Regions from separate parts of the Homo sapiens genome. Here region 1 is linked to region 2. Evidence: promoter capture Hi-C in 16 types of primary human blood cells and fetal thymus (Javierre and others, 2016). All regions are on one chromosome and are shown on one strand. The core of a region is centred on a gene start or on the middle of the fragment in contact, and the rest is flanking DNA. Distances in the headings are between cores, read along the strand shown. Region 1 overlaps PARP11-AS1 (PARP11 antisense RNA 1). Region 2 holds the start of DYRK4 (dual specificity tyrosine phosphorylation regulated kinase 4).

Region 1 (3,850 bases), core at 877-3,376, 670 kb after region 2:
ATCAGGAAATCTGTTTTTTCATCTTGGTTCTGGTGTTAGAGGGATACCCAGTGCATAGAACATCACAGAAACACAGACCTCAAGGGGTAAGTCCAGAATGGGGGCTGGTAGTTAGAATGAAGACTATAGAGGGAATCTGAATATCATTTTGAAGGGAGAGATCCATCCATTCATTCAGTCACTCTGTGAATATGTATTTATTATGCACACACTACATGTCGGACACAGTTTAGGCAATGAGAATTCAGAATTGAACCAGACAGACAAAAATCCCTGCCATCATGGAACTTACATTTCAGTAAGGAGAGATAGACAAGTGAAAAAACCAAGTAAGTAAATATCTTTGGTCAACTGGTAATAAGACTGTGGGAAAAATCAAGCAGGGTAACTGATGGTTATGAAACTTTGAGGCTGGGAGAGGGGGGTATTTAAAGAAGGTAATCAAGGCCTCTTCACAGGGAAAGTGAAATTTCAATTCAGGCCTGAAGGAAGTAAGAAAGCAAGCCATGGGGATTTTTTGAAGAAAAGCATTCCAGGTGAAGGGAAGAACAAGTGCATAGACCCCGAGGTGGACTGTGCCCGGCATGTTTTAGGGCGAGCAGAGGCCAGGATGGCTGGAGCAGAGTATGCAAAAGAGACAGCCATTAGACATGGAGTCTGACAGGTGACAAGCGCCCATACTGTGGAGGGACTTGCAGGACATCGTGTTGAATACTGATTTTTGCTCTTATTATCCTGGGAGGCAGGGAAGTGACATGATCAAGCTTATAGTTGAACAGGATAACACTGAGAATTCTGTTGAGAATAGTATGTAGGCAGCTAGGGCAGAAGCGGGAGAGCAGTTAGGGGGCTGTCACATAGTGGCTGGGCTAGGGAGTAGCCTTGGAAACAGCAGAACATGGTTCTATTCTGCACATAATTTGAAGGTAAAGTGAACAGGATTTGCAGAGGCATCAAAAGAGAGAGAGCACATGTGAGAGGAAGCTCTAAGGGTTTAAGCTTGAGCAACCAGACCCATGGCCATTAACCGAGCTGGGAAAGGCTGTGGAAGGAGCAGGTTTGGCATCCAGACCAGGAGTTCTGTTTTTTGATACATTCGGATACCGATTAAACATTCAAATAGAGATTGTGAATAGGCAATTGGGCATGTGCATGTGTAATTATAAACATGGGCATCAAAACCATATTGATTATGTTTAAAACTCATAGACCGAATGAGATCACCAAAGAAGAGAGTAGAATTAGAAAAAAGAAGAGATCGGAGTACTGGGCTCTGGGCATTCTAACATTACAAGGTGGGGACCTGAGATGGAATCAGCAAGGAAACTGGAAAGGAGTATCCAGGAAAGCTGGAGGAAAACCTGGGGGGGAAGTCTTCTCAGAGGCCAAGTGAGGAAAATGTATTCCAGAAGAATGGAGAGATCAACTGTGCCATGTGTTACCTGAGGTGTCCAGGATGATGAGGACTTAGAAATGACCATAGGATGTCATGGTGAAGAGATGATTGGTGACCTTGATAAGAACAGTTTTGGCGCTGGTGGTTTGTGCATCGGAGAGAGAGTAGGAGGGCCTGGGTGCTGTGAAGTCCTAATTAGAATGACTCCAACAGAGGATGTGGGAGAAGAGAGGTCTGACATGGTGAGCAAGAACAACTATTTAGAGGAGTTTTGCTGTGTAGAGAAGGAGAGAAACGGGAGGAAGTGGGGTTAAGAGCGGTGTCCTGTGTGTGTGTGCGTGCGTGCATGTGTAAGATGGGAGCAGGTCTGAAGGCTCATGGGATTCATCCCGTATAGAGAGGAGAGCTGATGATTCAGAAGAGAGGGGAGAATGCTAGGATAGTGGTGGGATCTGGGGCGCACATGGACAGGGTGGTCTTTGTCAGGAAGAGAGCTACCTCATCCATGGTAATGGTATAAAAGCGAGACACAGAGTGACTGGTAAGTCGATTGACAGAAGCCGATAGCAATAGCTGGTCTCCTCAACAAGCCAAAAATGGGGTGTGGCAGGATAGAACTCAAAGGGCCAGGTCCAAAGGCTCATGGAGCTTTTGGTTGGTAAGGAGTGTATTTATCCCTCCTTGTAACTGAATCCGAAAGACATCAAGTGGAGGAATGCTTTAAACCATGAGACAGGGCCAGGTGCAGTGGCTCACACCTATAATCCCAGCATTCTGGGAGGCGGAGGTGGGAGGATAGCTTGAGCTTAGGAATTCGAGACCATCCTGGGCAACATCTTGAGACTCCATCTCTACAAAATATTAAAAAAATTAGCCAGGTATGGTGGCACATGCCTGTGGTACCAGCTACTTGGGAGGCTGAGATGGGAGGATCGCCTGACCCTGGGAGATCCAAACTGTAGTGAGCTATGATTGAGCCACTGTACTCCAGCCTGGGGGCAGAGTAAGACCTTGTCTCAAAAATAAATAAATAAATAAATAAATAAATAAACAAACCATGAGACAGAGTACACCTGAGAGTCACAGTTAGGAGCAAAGACTGGGAGTTGCCATCAGGGCTGAAGGCTAAAATCATGAGACTGGATGAGCCTATTGAGAATGAGGAGAGCGCAGGCCAAGGAGTGAGACTTGCAGGACACCGACACTCAGGGACTTAGGGAGCAGTGAGAGAGAGAAAGAGAGAGAGAGAGAGAGAGAGAGAGAGGGAGAGAGAGAGAGAGAGTGAGAGAGAGTGAGAGTATGTGTCAGGGTGGAGCAGGAAGCAGCAAAGGCAGAAATAGGGCATTGCTTTGCTAGTTCATAGCCTACTTTCTTCCCTAAAGAAGGGAATACAACTGAGCATGCAAGAGAGGACCAGATGTAGACAATTTCCTGAAGGAAGGAGACATCAGCTGGGCCACCTGCTTCAGGGAGGCCTGGGAAGAGGGGAGGCTTGGAAATATCACCAGATTTGGGAAGAAGGTCACTGGCTATTGAGGGAGCAGGTACAGAAGAGGAGTTTGGGCAGATGCCCAATTGCAGGGGCTTAAGATGTGATTAAAGGAAATGGAGACAGGAGGAGGGTGTGAGGCCATACCCATTGAAATAGTGCTCCTATGGAATGAAAGAAAAACATACGGAGGCTCTAAGGACCAAGCACACAATCTTACGGGAGTTCTAGCATGACATCAGAAGGACTCATGGAGTGGACGAGATCACGGAGAGAAAGGGCCAAGAGACTCTGGAGGTGATGGTGCACCCACGTGGTTCTCAAGATTGTCTGTCTAGGTTTTCCTTGTAGCTCAGCTGGAAGCTTCACATGGCAGGTGGAAGGACATTTCCAGACCCTTCATTACTGCCATAGCTTTTGGAAAGATTGAATACAACAAGGGACAGGGAAGTGTGATGTATTGTGTCCTAAAAACCCCTCAGAAAAGACAATTTGAAGCAGAACATATAAATGATATCTTGTGTTACTTTCCTCATTCCCTTTCTTATTTACTTTTCCCACATGCCTCTAAGTCTGGATGCAATTGTGTGTCTCTAGGAGGTGTTCTAACAGGCTTCTAGTCACCATGAGAAATCTTAGAGTCTCCTCTTGGAGCTGATGACTTCGGGTCTAGACCCTGAAACATAATATTCTACTATTCACAGTAGAATGAAATGGCTTCAAGTCCCTGCATGTCCCATGTATTACATATTTAGTATGTAATACTTACAAGAAATGTGACCCTGGACAAGGGGCGAGGCTTCCCTGGGCCTGGGTTTTCTCAGGTAGAAGGAGAGCATGGTCGTACCTCTGCTGCCCAGCCTCTCGGGGAGCAGGCTTTCTTCCCGAGCGATGCAGCAGGAGAGCAAGGAGGAAAGGAGGTGACAAGGCAGAGCAGAAGAGGAGAAACTGGGTGGGGAAGCCAG
Region 2 (4,018 bases), core at 776-3,275:
GATTATTGTTTACTATTGTCATTCTACTGATTTATTAAACACTAGGTCTTATTTCTTCTATCTAAATGTATTTTAAGTCACACTCATTTCTGCCAGAGAATTCCTTGGACCCTCTGCATATATCCCTGAGACTCTTGAGGGTTCACTGACTCCCAGACTCTAAAGAGCTAGAAGAGGTTTTGGAGACCATGTCATCCATTTTCCCACCCTGGGGAAGAATCCTCTTTCTATGGTATTCCTGGCAATCACTCTGTCTATGCTGGAATATTTCTATGACAGAGTGCACTGTTTTTCTAGGCAACCCATTTCACACTCAACTGTTAATTTACATAGGGTTGGTACTTGATATTTCTTGGAAGAATAAACTATATTGAGCAAAATTTCCTCCACTGATCCTTGCTATCCTCTGCAGAGTACCAAGGAACAAATCTATCTCTTTTCTACTCAAGAGTTCTTGAATGTTCAAAAGTTGAGTAGAAAAAAGCTTTCTCTCCCTTGCATCTCCTCATCTCCAGGCATTCTGTGAAGTTTTTTCAAACCTCTCTTCATGTGATGGCACACCCAGGCCTGACAGAGAGAGCCTGCCTTGTGGTTGTTCCTATTTTCCAGTTCTTTGTGATCTCAAAGTAGCTACAGTTTCTAGAGTCTGGATTATGTTCTACTCATTGCTAAGTCAGGCAGCACGACCATATTCTTTGATGTGGTCATTGCATTTCTATGAATGCAGCCTCCACCAGCATTTGCTCTTTGGGGAGCCATCACAACACACTCACGATGGGCTTAGAGTCAGCTAAAACCACTAAATCCCAGCACTGGGTCCTCCACACGCTTGAGGACTATGCATTCTAGCCAAGTTGCAGGCAACAATATGTGGAGTTGGAGAGGGCAAAGTCAGGGAAGAGTGGCTGGCATATTGCTAGAGAGTCCCTTCCGATTTACCTCTGCTTTCTCCATAAGGACCAAAACAAACAAGAGAAACAACAGATTTAAGTAACAGAAACAATAAGGTAGAGTGCATGTTTGAAGAATTTCTTCGAACTCCTAGGTTTTACATACCGACCACATGTAGGTGATCAAATCGCTCAAGCAAGACAAAGGACATTTTCATTTGTTGTTTCCACGGTTTGAACTTTTCCACTAAATGGCCTCCTGCTTTTGCCGAGTCTCCACTTAAGCCTGGACAGTGAAGCTTGAATTAATATTGGTGATGCTGTCCGTTGCTTAAGACATGTCAGAGGGGTCACGGTTTTCCTAAGCTTTGAGGGGCTGCTGGACATTTCAAATGCAGCAAATGTCACAGAATAGCCTTTAAAAACCCTCAAATTGTGCATTGTTCATCTCTTTTTTAAGGAAAGATTTGCTAATATTGGGAATTTCCTGAGTGGCAGCTCTGGGTGTGTGATCTACACACACCTTCGCGCGCTTTTGTGTCAGGGGCTGGGCCCTGGTTGAGCACAGAGGTGCCCGGGCATATGGGCTGGGTGGGAACATGAGTAATGCCTGCCAGAGCCTCATCCACGCGAGGCGTGTGGTCGTGGACCCACTTACGACTACCAAGAGGACATGCAGTAAAGAAGAGAAAGAAAGGGAGGAAGAAAGTCTGGCGTCCCAGTGAGGGCTGGAAGCACAGTTCCAGGATAGGTCTGCTGAGTTCCTCAGAACCCCTCGCTCCCTGTCCTGCACTCAGCTGGAGTCGCCGATGCGACAGCATCTTAACATGGAAGTATACTGACGTCGGATTCCGGGGATGCAGCTGCTGCAAAAACTACAACTGTATTTTCTTGTCCGCGCACCACAGCCCGCCTCTCTCTGACCCACATTCCCCGGTCAGCTCTTGCATTCTGCACGCTTTTCATTCTCCCCCCACGACCCCGTCGACCAGAAGCTTCGTCGCCTGCCTCGTACTCGCGCCTGACTGCTCGTGAAGTACGAGCCTCCGCGGCCCTTACTTTGTTCCGGTGCGGATAGGCGGCGGGAGGAGCTGCATGAGGCCGGCGCTGACCGCCCGCCGCTGCGGGAGGCTGTGAGAGCCCGGCAGAGGGCAAGGGACGGCCACGCCCTCCTCCCGTCGCTATAGAAACGGCTCCCGCCCTTTTTATGACTCCAGAGCTGGAAGGGCTTTCTCAGGCTGTGGTCCCAAACCACCTTGCAGAGTAGCAGCCTGAAGAACATACTCCTCGTCCTCCTACTCGCATTCTCTTGCCCCAGTTCTTTAAAGTATAGGGCAAGAATTGAACAAAATCCCAGCATAAAGAACTTAAAGTTGGTTGCCCAGACCGGACACATGAAATTATCCCTACTCTCTCCCCTTCTTCAAGCGAAGCATGTGGTTATCAGAATTACATCACAGAAGTTCTGGCCGGGCGCGGTGGTTTTACACCTGCAATCCCAGCACTTTGGGAGGCCTAGGCAGACCACTTGAGGTCTGGAGTTCGAGACCAAACTGCTCAAAGTAGTGAGACCCCCCCGCCCCTGTCTCTATTTAGACATTTTTTTCTGTAATCCCAGCACTTTGAGAGGCCAAGGCGGGTGGATCACGAGGCCAAGAGATCAAGACCATCCTGGCCAACATGGTGAAACCCCGTCTCTACTAAAAATACAAAAATAAGCGGGGCGTGGTGGTGCGTGCCTGTAGTCCCAGCTACTTGGGAGGCTGAGGCAGGAGAATCGCTGGAACCCGGGAGGCGGAGGTTGCAGTGAGCCGAGATCGCGCCACTGCACTCCAGCCTGGCGACAGAACGAGACTGCATCTCAAAAAAAAAAAAAAAAAAGAAAAAAAGAAAAAGAAAAAGAAAAAAAGTAAGTACATAGCAAAAGTTCTGGGTAAAATCCATATATCAGCTGAACACTTTTTGAGTGCTTACTCTGCACCAGATTGTAGAAAGCATGAAAAGGGAAATTTGTAATTGAGTGGCAGTAGGTTGACCTGGAGGTGCACAGTCTGGTCCAGGCAGAAAAGACATTCAAATGAAGCTTTCTGAAAGAGCTGAGTTGAATCTGAGTCTTCAAGGACAGGCAGTAGTTGTCTACGTAAAGGAGGCAAGTCCTATTCTGAAGGCCAGAGCCATAGAAAAGCTTGGTACCATTGTGCCAGCACCCAGTTTAGTGGGGCAGGGATCAAAGTTGCACGTGGGCAGAGACAAGGTTGAAGCAGCAGGAAAGGGGGAGTCAGACACCAAGTAGGCTATGAACTCGACCAGGGTAAGGTGTGTATGTGCAGACTGCAGAGGGGTGTTCATGCTGACTTTATTTTATAAAACCCTCTGTGGCAATAACAATGGAAGTAGGCCCGAGTAGGTTAAGAATCAAGGCAAGGATGCCTGTTAGAAATAGTGAGTGATGATGTTTCAGAGTAAGGGAGAGCACATGGAAGAGTAGTTTTGAGAAATTTAGGAAATGGAGTAAGACTTGGTGACTGGATGTGAAAGTCGAGAGAAGACTCAATCCCAGGATGACACCTTTGGCACCTGCAGTGATGGTGGTGCCATTCATTTACCAACAGAAAACACAGGAGAGATGTCAGGGGTAGGAGGAGACGTTGAATTTAACAACTGATCTGCTACATCAAATTGTCAGTGGACCATCCACAGGTTCTGTTGTCAAGAGCATGGTATAGGGTACAGACCCTGACTTGGCAGTCACTGTCACATAAGTGACCCCTGGAGTTTGCATAGAACATGAAACTGGTAAGACAAGTAGGTAAAGGTGACACAACAGATTAGAAAGCTGCAAAATAATGAAGAGTAGGCATGGAGATGGGAAGAAATGACAAAGAAATGTGTCACATGAGCCAAGGAAATCAAATGTTTTCATCAGAGTATAATGAATAGGGTGTATAAGATTAGGTGAGAAAATTGTACACTGGGTTTGGCAACATAAAGGTATCAGTGCTTTCAGCCAGGCTGGTTTTAACATACTTTGAGGTAATTTTCAAATCCCCTGATAAACTATAAAGAACACGGCAAAAACAGGTTATTGAGCTGGTGCCAGATGATTAATCAATTATATCAGTACCTAA

Evidence for each region. The method cuts DNA at HindIII sites, captures the fragments that hold promoters and counts their contacts. A CHiCAGO score of 5 or more calls a contact.
Region 1: a contact is called between a fragment that was not itself captured here and the fragment with the promoter of DYRK4 in region 2, in 1 of 17 cell types (M0 macrophages). The highest score is 5.0, in M0 macrophages.

Annotation. Positions count from the first base shown.
Region 1 is chr12:3,891,669-3,895,518 of GRCh38, reverse strand. All of the region lies in intron 1 of PARP11-AS1 (PARP11 antisense RNA 1), which reads right to left. Among named protein-coding and RNA genes, the nearest start is that of PARP11, 20 kb to the right of the region's middle. The HindIII fragment of the contact is 2,249 bases long and covers 1,002-3,250 here.
Region 2 is chr12:4,560,215-4,564,232 of GRCh38, reverse strand. DYRK4 (dual specificity tyrosine phosphorylation regulated kinase 4) reads right to left here and starts at 2,025. Exons shown (of 15, transcript NM_001394779.1): 1 at 1,950-2,025. The coding sequence starts at 1,987. RefSeq lists a silencer at 1,896-2,190. The HindIII fragment of the contact is 1,088 bases long and covers 1,888-2,975 here.